2 separate regions of the Homo sapiens genome follow, and region 1 is linked to region 2. The links are contacts of gene promoters, found by promoter capture Hi-C in blood cells and fetal thymus (Javierre and others, 2016). All regions are on one chromosome and are shown on one strand. Each heading gives the region's core, a stretch centred on a gene start or on the middle of the fragment in contact. The rest is flanking DNA. Distances are from core to core; before and after follow the strand shown. Region 1 has its middle 4.3 kb from the start of ITGAM. Region 2 holds the start of STX1B (syntaxin 1B).

The links. Contacts are between HindIII fragments. The CHiCAGO score rates a contact against its expected background, and 5 or more counts as called.
Region 1: a fragment that was not itself captured here is called in contact with the fragment with the promoter of STX1B in region 2 in 1 of 17 cell types (neutrophils); the score reaches 6.8 in neutrophils.

The regions. Positions count from the first base shown.
Region 1 is chr16:31,253,218-31,258,092 of GRCh38, forward strand. No RefSeq gene overlaps it. Among named protein-coding and RNA genes, the nearest start is that of ITGAM, 4.3 kb to the right of the region's middle. The HindIII fragment of the contact is 7,238 bases long and covers 1-4,875 here.
Region 2 is chr16:31,008,775-31,013,153 of GRCh38, forward strand. It overlaps STX1B (syntaxin 1B), which reads right to left and starts at 1,864. Exons shown (of 10, transcript NM_052874.5): 1 at 1,593-1,864. The coding sequence starts at 1,622. RefSeq lists an enhancer at 1,900-2,401. The HindIII fragment of the contact is 27,284 bases long and covers 1-4,379 here.

The DNA.
Region 1 (4,875 bases), core at 190-2,689, 240 kb after region 2:
GTAAGCTCAGAGAGGTAAGGGCTGGGGTTGGGATGACAGGTCATGCAGGTCCTTGTAGGTTGTAGAAAGGACTGGCTTTTACTATCAGTAACGTGGGAGCCTTTGCAAGGTTTTGAGCAGAGGAGTGGCATGATATGTCTTGTGTTTTGAAACAATCCCTCTGACTGCTGTACTGAAAATTGACTTCGGCTGGGCACGGTGGCTCACGCATGTAATGCCAGCACTTTGGGAGGCTGAGGTGGGAGGATGGCTTGAGGCTAGGAGTTTGAGACCAGCCTAGGCAACTTAGTGAGACCCCGTCTCTACAAAAAGATTGAAAAATTACCTGGACATGGGGGCGCATGCCTGTAGTACCAGCTATTTAGGAGGCTGAGGTGGGAGGATCATTTGAACCCAGGAGTTGGAAAAAAGAAAAAAGGCAGTCAAAGGACTGAGCTCTGAGATCCTTCTGAAGAGGTTGGGAGAAGAGGAGAATCAGCAAGAGAAACTGAGAAGGAGGGTCATGGGCGGTAGGCGGGAAGCAGGAGAGTGTGGGGTCAGAGGACAGATGTAGAAATCAGTTCCAGGAAGCGAGGGCCGAGTGTCAGAAGCTGCTGCTGAGTCACTCAAGATGAAGACAGAACTCATCACTGGAGTCACTCAGGCAGCCTTGGTGACCTTGATAAAAATAGTTTAGGTGGAGTAGGTGCCGGGTTGGAGCACAGGCTTGGTTGGAATGGGGTTAAGGGAGGATGTGAGCAGTAGAACAGGGTGCAGCCAACACAGACAACTACTTTGGAGAAGTTTTGCAAAAGGGAAGTAAAAAATGGGCAGTGGTTGATGAGGGGAGTGGAATCAAAGAAAGTCTTGTTTGCTTTTTCAGTAGGAGAAATGTATTGTTTCTGATGGGAACACCAGATTTCTACATACGTATTTTGTATTCTTTCCGAGGGTCTTATATACTTATTCCAGAGCCAACACTGTACTTTTACCTACTGTGGCTTTAGAATATTGCTTTGATAGGGTACTTGTTATGGAATAACATGACATTGTAAGGTATGTCCCATTGCTTTATAGGCTATTGCTGTGTGTTTTCTAGTCCAGTCAATTTTTGAATCAGCACGTCAAATTCTAGAAAAATTCTGCTGGGTGAGATTATAATGAATTTGAGTAATTAAATGGAGAACCGACATCTGTACTGACATCTGTAGTCTTGTAGTCTTGTCATCCATGAAGATGACATATCTCTCTATTCTTTTTTTTTTTTTTTTTTTTTTTTTTTTTGAGATGGAGTGTTGCTCTGTTGCCCAGGCTGGAGTGTGGTGGCACAATCTCAGTTCACTGAAACCTCTGCCTCCCGGGTACAAGCAATTCTCATGCCTCAGCCTCCCGAGCAGCTGGGATTACAGGCATGCACCATGATGCCCAGCTAATTTTTGTATTTTTTGTAGAGATGGGATTTCACCATGTTGGCCAGGCTGGTCTCAAACTCCTGGCCTCAAGTGATCCACCCACTTCAGCCTCCCAAAGTGCTAGGATTACAGGCGTGAGCCACTGCACCAGGTCAATAATCTTTTTTTTTTTTTTTTTTTTTTTTTTTTTTGAGGATGAAGTCTTGCTCTGTTGCCCAGGCTGGAGTGCAGTGGCATGATCTCGGCTCACTGCAACCTCCACCTCCCGGGTTCCTAGCATTCTCCTGTCTCAGCCACCCGAGTAGCTGGGACTACAGGCGCATGCCACCATGTCTGGCTAATTTTTGTATTTTTAGCAGAGACGGGTTTTGCCATGTTGGCCAGGCTGGTCTCGAACTCCTGATCTCAGGTGATCCACCCACATCAGCCTCCCAAAGTGCTGGGATTACAAACGTGAGCCATCATGCCCGGCCAGTAATTTGTTTAATTACATATCTTTTATAAGCTCTTTCTTTCTTCCTTCTTTTTTTTTTTGAGACAAGGTCTCACTCTGTTGCCCAGGCTGGAGTGCAGTAGTGTGATCATGGCTCACTGCAGCCTCCAACACTTGGGCTCAAAATGTCCAAGGGACATTTTGCGAAGTGCGTTTTCAGGGAGATAGTTTGATTTCCCACACCTGTTTGATACATATTAATGTTTAATTAATTAATTATTTATTTAATTAAAAAAATTTAAGAGACGGGGTCTTATTATGTTGCCCAGGCTAGAGTACAGTGTATGGTGGCATGATCATAGCTCACTGCAACCTCGACCCCTTGGGTGCAAGTGATCCTCCTGCCTCAGCTTCCTGAGTAGCTGGGACTACATGTGCATACCACCACACTAGATAATTAAAAAAAAATTTTTTTTAAGAGACAGAATCTTCCTATGTTGCCCAGGTTGGTCTTGAACTCCTGGGCTCAAGCGATCCTCCCACTCTGGACTCCCAAAGTGCTGGTATTACAGGCAGTGAGCCATTGTGCCTGGCATTAGCTCCTTCTTTTCCTCACTTTCCCACCAGTGTTTCCGGAATCACCTTCCAGATAAATTACTTACACTTGAAGCCTTGTCTCAGAGTCCACTTATAGGGGAAATCAAGCTAAGATTTTATCAAGAGTGGGGATGGGGGACAGGTAGGAGGGAACAGCCAACAGCTTATAGATATGTCCCCACCCACGGTCACCAGGTCAGGTGCACACTTGGTGGTGGCTCATTGAGAAAGCCTCTGCAGGTTGGACAGCCAGTCTGAGATCTTGCCTATGTTTTTACAGAGAGTGGACCCTTGGCCACTGTTCAGGGCAAGGAGGGGCCTCCACGTCTGAGTTCGAGCAGCCCCCATAGTGGCCAGAGTGTGAAAACTTTTCCCAAAGCAAACCCAGCTGATCTACTAAACTCCTCCCCGGGCACCCTGGTTGGTATCTTCTCATCTTGGGCTCATGACTTCGTTCGTCCTTTCCTCAGCTTCTTTACCTGCTAACAAATACAGGTAACCTGTTGTTTTAAATTATCTATTGGTATTTTTTATGATTATGAGTCTTTTTTTTGTATAAAGGTCTTTTTTTTTTTTCTCTTTGAGACATGGTCTTGCTCTGTTGCCCAGGCTGGAGTGCAGTGTTGAGGTCATAGCTCACTGTAGCCTCAAACTCCTGGGCTCAAGTGATCCTCTTGCCTTGGCCTCCCACAGCATTGGGATCACAGGCATGAGCCACTGCACCCAGCCTATATAAATATTTTAAGTACAAATGATATAGAAAAGAATATTAAAGTCATCTTGTAGCAGATTGAATACAACCACAAATTCCTCCCATTGGGAGGTGGGATCTGTGTCCCCTTTGCTTGAATGTGGATGAGCTCTGTGACTGCCTGATCAATGGAATGTGGTGCAGATGACTTGGCGCCAGTTTCCAGATCAAGACCTTAGTAGCCTGGAAATTTCTGCTTCCTGTCTGTTGGAACACTTGCTCTTGAAGTCCAGCCACCATGCTGCGAGAAGCCCAAGCCACATGGAGAGGGCACGTGGGGGTGCCCAGGTGACAGCCCCAACTGAGCTCCTAGCCCACGGCCAACTGCCAGCTGTGGGAGTGACCCATTTTGGGAGCCCAGCCCAACTGAGCTTTGGATTACTCTAGCCCTGGTTGTGATCCGACTGCAATCATGTGAGAGACCCCGCTGAGAACTGCTGAGGCCAGGAGATTCACAGATACGCGAGAGATTATAATATGCTGCTGTTTTTAACTATGAAGTTTTGGAGTAGCTCGCTCTGCAGCAATAGATACTGGAACATACCTGTAATCCTCCTATCTTGGAGATAACGACTATTAACATTTGGTTTTCCTGCATATATATATATATATATATATATATATATATATATATATATATATGATTTATTTTTGTATGTATGTACTTATTTATTTAATTTTAATTTTTTATTTTTTGAAACTGAGTCAAGCTCTATTGCCCAGGCTGGAGTGCAATGGTGCAATCTCAGCTCACTGCAACCTCCACCTCCCAGGTTCAAGTGATTCTCCTGCCTCAGCCTCCCAAGTAACTAGGATTACAGGTGCCTGCCACCACGCCTGGCTAATTGTTGTATTTTTAGTAGAGATGGGGTTTCACCATGTTGGCCAGGCTGGTCTTGAACTCCTAATCTCAGGTGATCCTCCCACCTCAGCCTCCCGAAGTGCTGGGATTACAGGCGTGCCTGTATATATTACATGCCCTGCCTATATATATTTTAGAGACAGGGTCTGGCTCTGTTTTCCAGGCTGGAGTGCAGTGGTGCAATCATATCTCACTGCAGCCTCAACCTCCTTGGCTCAAGCGATCCTCCCACCTCAGCCTGTTGAGTAGCTGGGACCACAGGTGTGCATCACTATGCCCAGCTAATTTTTAAACATTTTTTTGTAGAGTCAGGGTCTTGCTGTGTTGCCCAGGCTGGTCTTGAGTTCCTGAGCTCAAATGATCCCTCTGCCTTGGCCTCCCAATGTGCTGAGATTACAAGCAGGAGTCACCACACCTGGCTATATATAAAAATTATAAACAGATAATTTTTAACCAAATGTACATAATTTTAATTGCTTTTTTTTTTTTCAGCCAGCAAGCATTTTTTTCCATCTAGTTATCGGGAAAGTAGAACTAGAGGCAAAAGAAAATGTGTTGAATGGTGAAACCCTGTCTCTACTGAAAATACAAAAAATTAGCCAGGCGTGGTGGCAAGCACCTGTATTCTCAGCTACTCGGGAGGCTGAGGCAGGAGAATCACTTGAACTCGGGAGGCAGAGGTTGCAGTGAGCTGAGATCACGCCACTGCACTCCAGCCTGGGCGACAGAGGGAGACTCCGTTTCACAAAAAAAAAAAAAAAAAAAAAAAGAAAATGTGTTGAGAAAGAGTGAAAAAAATCATTGGCTTGAGAATCACATTGGCGGTCACATAAAGGTGAGG
Region 2 (4,379 bases), core at 614-3,113:
ACCAGCTGTGTGACTTTGGTCTAATTACTTAACCTCTCTGAGCTTAGTGTCCTTATCTATAAAATGAGATAACATATATCTATATATCTAAAAAGATATTTATATATCTATGAAATGAGATAACCAGTCTCATAGGATTGCTGTGAGGATCAAAATGAGTGAATATGCATAAAACACTTCAAACAATGTTTATTATTACTGTCACTTTCCTCATGCCTGAGTGTATATTCAGTAAAAATGTAATAAAGAAACCTTTAAAATTCCCTCCCTCAGCCACCAGCTCCTCCTTGCTTCCCATTTGGCAACCTGTCTGTCCCCAGAGACAGCGGTCACTTGCCTCCAAACACCTTCTTCTCGTCTGTCTGTAACCTGGGTCCCCACCCCCAAATCCAGGGGACAGCTCTTCACCCCCAGTGCTGAAACTTCTGTTTCAAAGGCCAGAAAAGCAGAGACCTGTGTCAACCTAGCAGACAGGAAACCCAGATTGCAGTCTGCCCCCCACCCACTTGCTTGGTGACCTTGGACAAGTCCCTTCCCACGCCTGAATCTCAGTTTCCTCATCTGTCAAGTGGGGTAATAACCCCTGGGGTAACAACCCACCAGTTCCCTGTAAAGGCTCAGTGCATTGGGCAGCTCAGCCGGGGCCGGTACCCTTATTAACATAACACCACCAGCCCAGCACAGTGCGGACTGTCAGTGCTGCCTCCTCGGGCCCCAGGTCATTTCTCCAAATACCCCAGCGTCCTCCCTGCCCCTGAAACCATTCTCATCGAACCCCACTCCCCAGTTCCTCCAGGTAGCAGCCTCCACTGCAGTCCTTCCCCTGTCCCCCCAAAACCAGGGACTGCCTGGCCAGACTCTTGGAGCCGGGCCTCTTCAGGCCTGCAGACCTGGGGCCTGCATCAGCCCTTGACTGCCCGGGGTGCCCCAGTTCCCCCAAGCAGAGCACGGCCCGTGTTCCATGGCCCTCTCCTCTGCATCCCCATCTCCCACCTCTGGGTCACCCTGTCTCAGGCCCTGGCCCTCTGGCTCTCTCCGGAGGCCACCTCTTCCCTCCCTGTCTCGGAGAGATGCCCCCTCCCTATAGGGAGTGACACACGCGTGTGCACACACACACACACTTCATTCACTGCCAGGTGCTGGCATCTCAGTCCCAACCTGTGTCCTTCCCCGTAGCATCCCCTGAATCTGGGTCCTGCTAGACTCTCAGCCTGGCCCAGTCACCGCCCCCATGCTTCTCTTTGGCAAACCTGCCCAGGGGATGACAGTCTCCTCCGGTTTCTCCTGATATCCACTCTCTCCCATCCCCAGACCAGACCCCGGGGCCCTCCTGGGAATGCGGGGTGTTCGAGGCCCCTGAGACCTCTCCTGCCCCCTTGTGTCTTCATGGCCTCCAACCCCTTCCAGGCACTGTCCCCAAAATGCAGGTTCACTGGAGAGACATCAGGCGCCTGAAGATACTGGGGTGCTCCGGCTACCAACCTCCGATCTCATCCTTCGCCCCCACGTCCCAGCACCTCCCCCACTCCATCCCCACGCGCTCCCCCAATATTGGGGTCCCGCCCCCCCATTCTCCCCACCCCCAAGCTCACACTCCGCAGCTCTTGAGTCCGATCCTTCATCCTGCGACGGCTCCTCCTCCTCCTCCTAGTCCTCCTGCCTCTGCTGCTGCTCCGGGTCTCCCGCCTCTGTGCCGGAGGCCGGGGTCTGGGGGCGCCGGGGGGCGCCGCGGCCGCTGCGGGGGGCCTGCGGGCGGGGGCGGGGCCGGGGGCGACTGGCCGAGGGCCGGGCAGGGGCAGGGGCCTGGGCCGGGCTCGGCTCTGCCGGGCTGCGGTGGCGATGCGGCTGCGGCACAGGGTAGGATGGAGGGATGCGGGAGCCGAGCGCGGGGGAGGGGGGCGGAGGGAGGTGAGGAGGAAGCGAGGGCGGGGGGAGCGGGAGCGCGCAAGGAGCAGGGGGCATGCGCAGCACCCGGGCCGGGGGCGCCTGGGGGTTGTAGTCACGGGCTTGGGGGACACCCGAGGAGGGGGCGGGAGAGGCCTGGAGGCGGGTGGGGGTGGGCAGAGCCCGAGGAGCAGGGAGAGATGCGGAGAGCCAAGCGGAGATGCTAGGGTGGCCCGGGGGGTGGGGTGGCCCGGCGGAAAGAGGGGGTGACGGAATGAATTCAGGGAATAACCTGGGAGCCAGGATGTGGATCCCTTTCCAGGAGACACAGATCGCGGCTGTGTTTTGTGTCTGGTGTCTGCGTGAGGCTGCGCGCCGACCACCTCTGGGTGCGAGCCCATGTGTGTTCTTGCAGGAGGCTCTTTGGACACTATAAATAGAAAGACCGACCCTCTGTGTGGTTTTTACGATGCAGGGAACCAGCCAGGTGCTTGCTGAGAAGGACACGGGGCTTGTGTTGCACAGCCTGGGCCTCTCCCGCCGCGGTGGGTCTCGGAGCTCTGCTTGTCTGCCTCCAGGGACAGGGTGCTCACTACCTCCCAGGACCTCTTGGCCCATCTGCAGATGGCTCTGACTGTTGAACATGAAATTTGTCCTTAGTGGGAGGGGAAATCAGGTGCCCCTGAGGGTCTGAGTGACCTCCTGTTCTGATGCCCACCTCTCCTCTCCCCATCCTTACACCACACCAGCTCCTCCCACCCCCTGCAATGGGGCGCCGGTCCCCAATGGGACAGGTCTTGACTCTCAATCGATCCTCCTGCCTCAGCCTCCCAAAGTGCTGGGATTCCATGCCTGGGCCACCGCACCCGGCATTCTCTTGCCAGGTACCCAGTGACCTCCTTGGTGCCAAATCTGTGTCTGATAAACCCTCATCCCACACCGCCAGTCGGGCCTTACCATCCCTGACCTCTCAGCAGCATGTGACCCTGATGAGCCCCTCTTCCTGAAACCCTCCTGTCTGTGGTGCTCCGCCCACCTACCCCCCAACCTGATCTGTGAGTGTTGTCTCCCAGCCTCTTTCCAGGTCCTTACCTTTTTTCCCACAGCCCTTCAACCTCAGGGTTCCCTGGGCTCCGTCCATTCTCTCTTTTTTTTTTTTTTTGAGTTAGGGTCTCATTCTGTTGCCCAGGCTAGAGTACAGTGGTGCAATCTCGGCTCACTGCAGCCTCAACGTCCCAGGCTCAAGTGATCCTCCCACCTCAGCCTCCTGAGTAGCTGGGACTACAGGCACGCGCCACCACACCTGGCTAATTTTATTTTTTGTAGAGACAGGGTCTCACTATGTTGTCCAGGCTGGTTTTGAACTCCTAGGGTCAAGCGATCCTCCTGCCTCAGCCTCCCAAAGTGCTGAGATTACAGGCCTGGGCCACCATGCCTGGCATTCTCTTCCTTCTTTACCTGCATCTTTCTGCACCTCCGTGTCTGCAGTGCCCACATCTGTACCTGCGAGCCAGATCCTCCCCCTGTAAGACAGCCCCTACTATATGCCTAAGCTCTGAGCTGGGCACCAAGAAGACAGAGATTGAAGATGCCACCAGAGCCATGAGTAGATCCATGACTACAGTGGGCATGGCTAGCGCTGACGTGGGGACCTCAAGGAGGTGGCTGTCCCCAAAGTGTTCCTTCCTGTGTTCTCCCTCAGAGATGGCGTCATCTCCATCCACCCAGCCACTCAAAGCACAGAAAGCTGTCCTTGCCTCCCCGCCATTATAATGCCAGCACGTTCTGGGCATCCAACGTGTTGCATTCACTATGCTGGTAGCTCCCAGAAACCTCCCAACCTCACAGTAGCCACTGCTAAGATCCCAAGTGTATAGACAAGGACACTGAGGCTTTGCATGGTCACATAACATATCCAAGTTCACAAGGTTAATAAAGGGCAGGGCTGGGGTCTTGTTTGCTTTTTTTTTTTTTTTTCCAGAGACAGGGTCTCACTCTGTTCCCCAGGCTGGAGTGCAGTGGTGCAATCACACCTCACAGCAGCCTTGACCTCCTGGGCTCAAGCAATCCTCCCATCTCAGCCTCCTGAGTAGCTGGGACTACAGGTGTACACCACTGTGTCCAGCTAATTTTCTTTCTTTCTTTCTTTCTTTTTTTGAGAGAGAGTCTCGCTCTGTCACCCAGGCTGGAGTGCAATGGCGCGATCTTGGCTCACTGCAATCTCCGCCTCCTGGGTTCAAGTGATTCTCCTGCCTCAACCTCCCAAGTAGCTGTGATTACAGGTGCCTGCCACCATGCCTGGCTAATTTTTATATTTTTAGTAGAGACAGGGTTTCGCCATGTTGGCCAGGCTGGTCTGGAACTCCTGACCTCAAATGATCCACCCGCCTTGGCTTCCCAAAGTGCTGGGACTGCAGGTGTGAGCCACTGTGCCTGGCCCTAATTTAACTTTCTTTTTTTCTTTTTTTTGCAGAGACGAGATTGGTCCTAGCCTC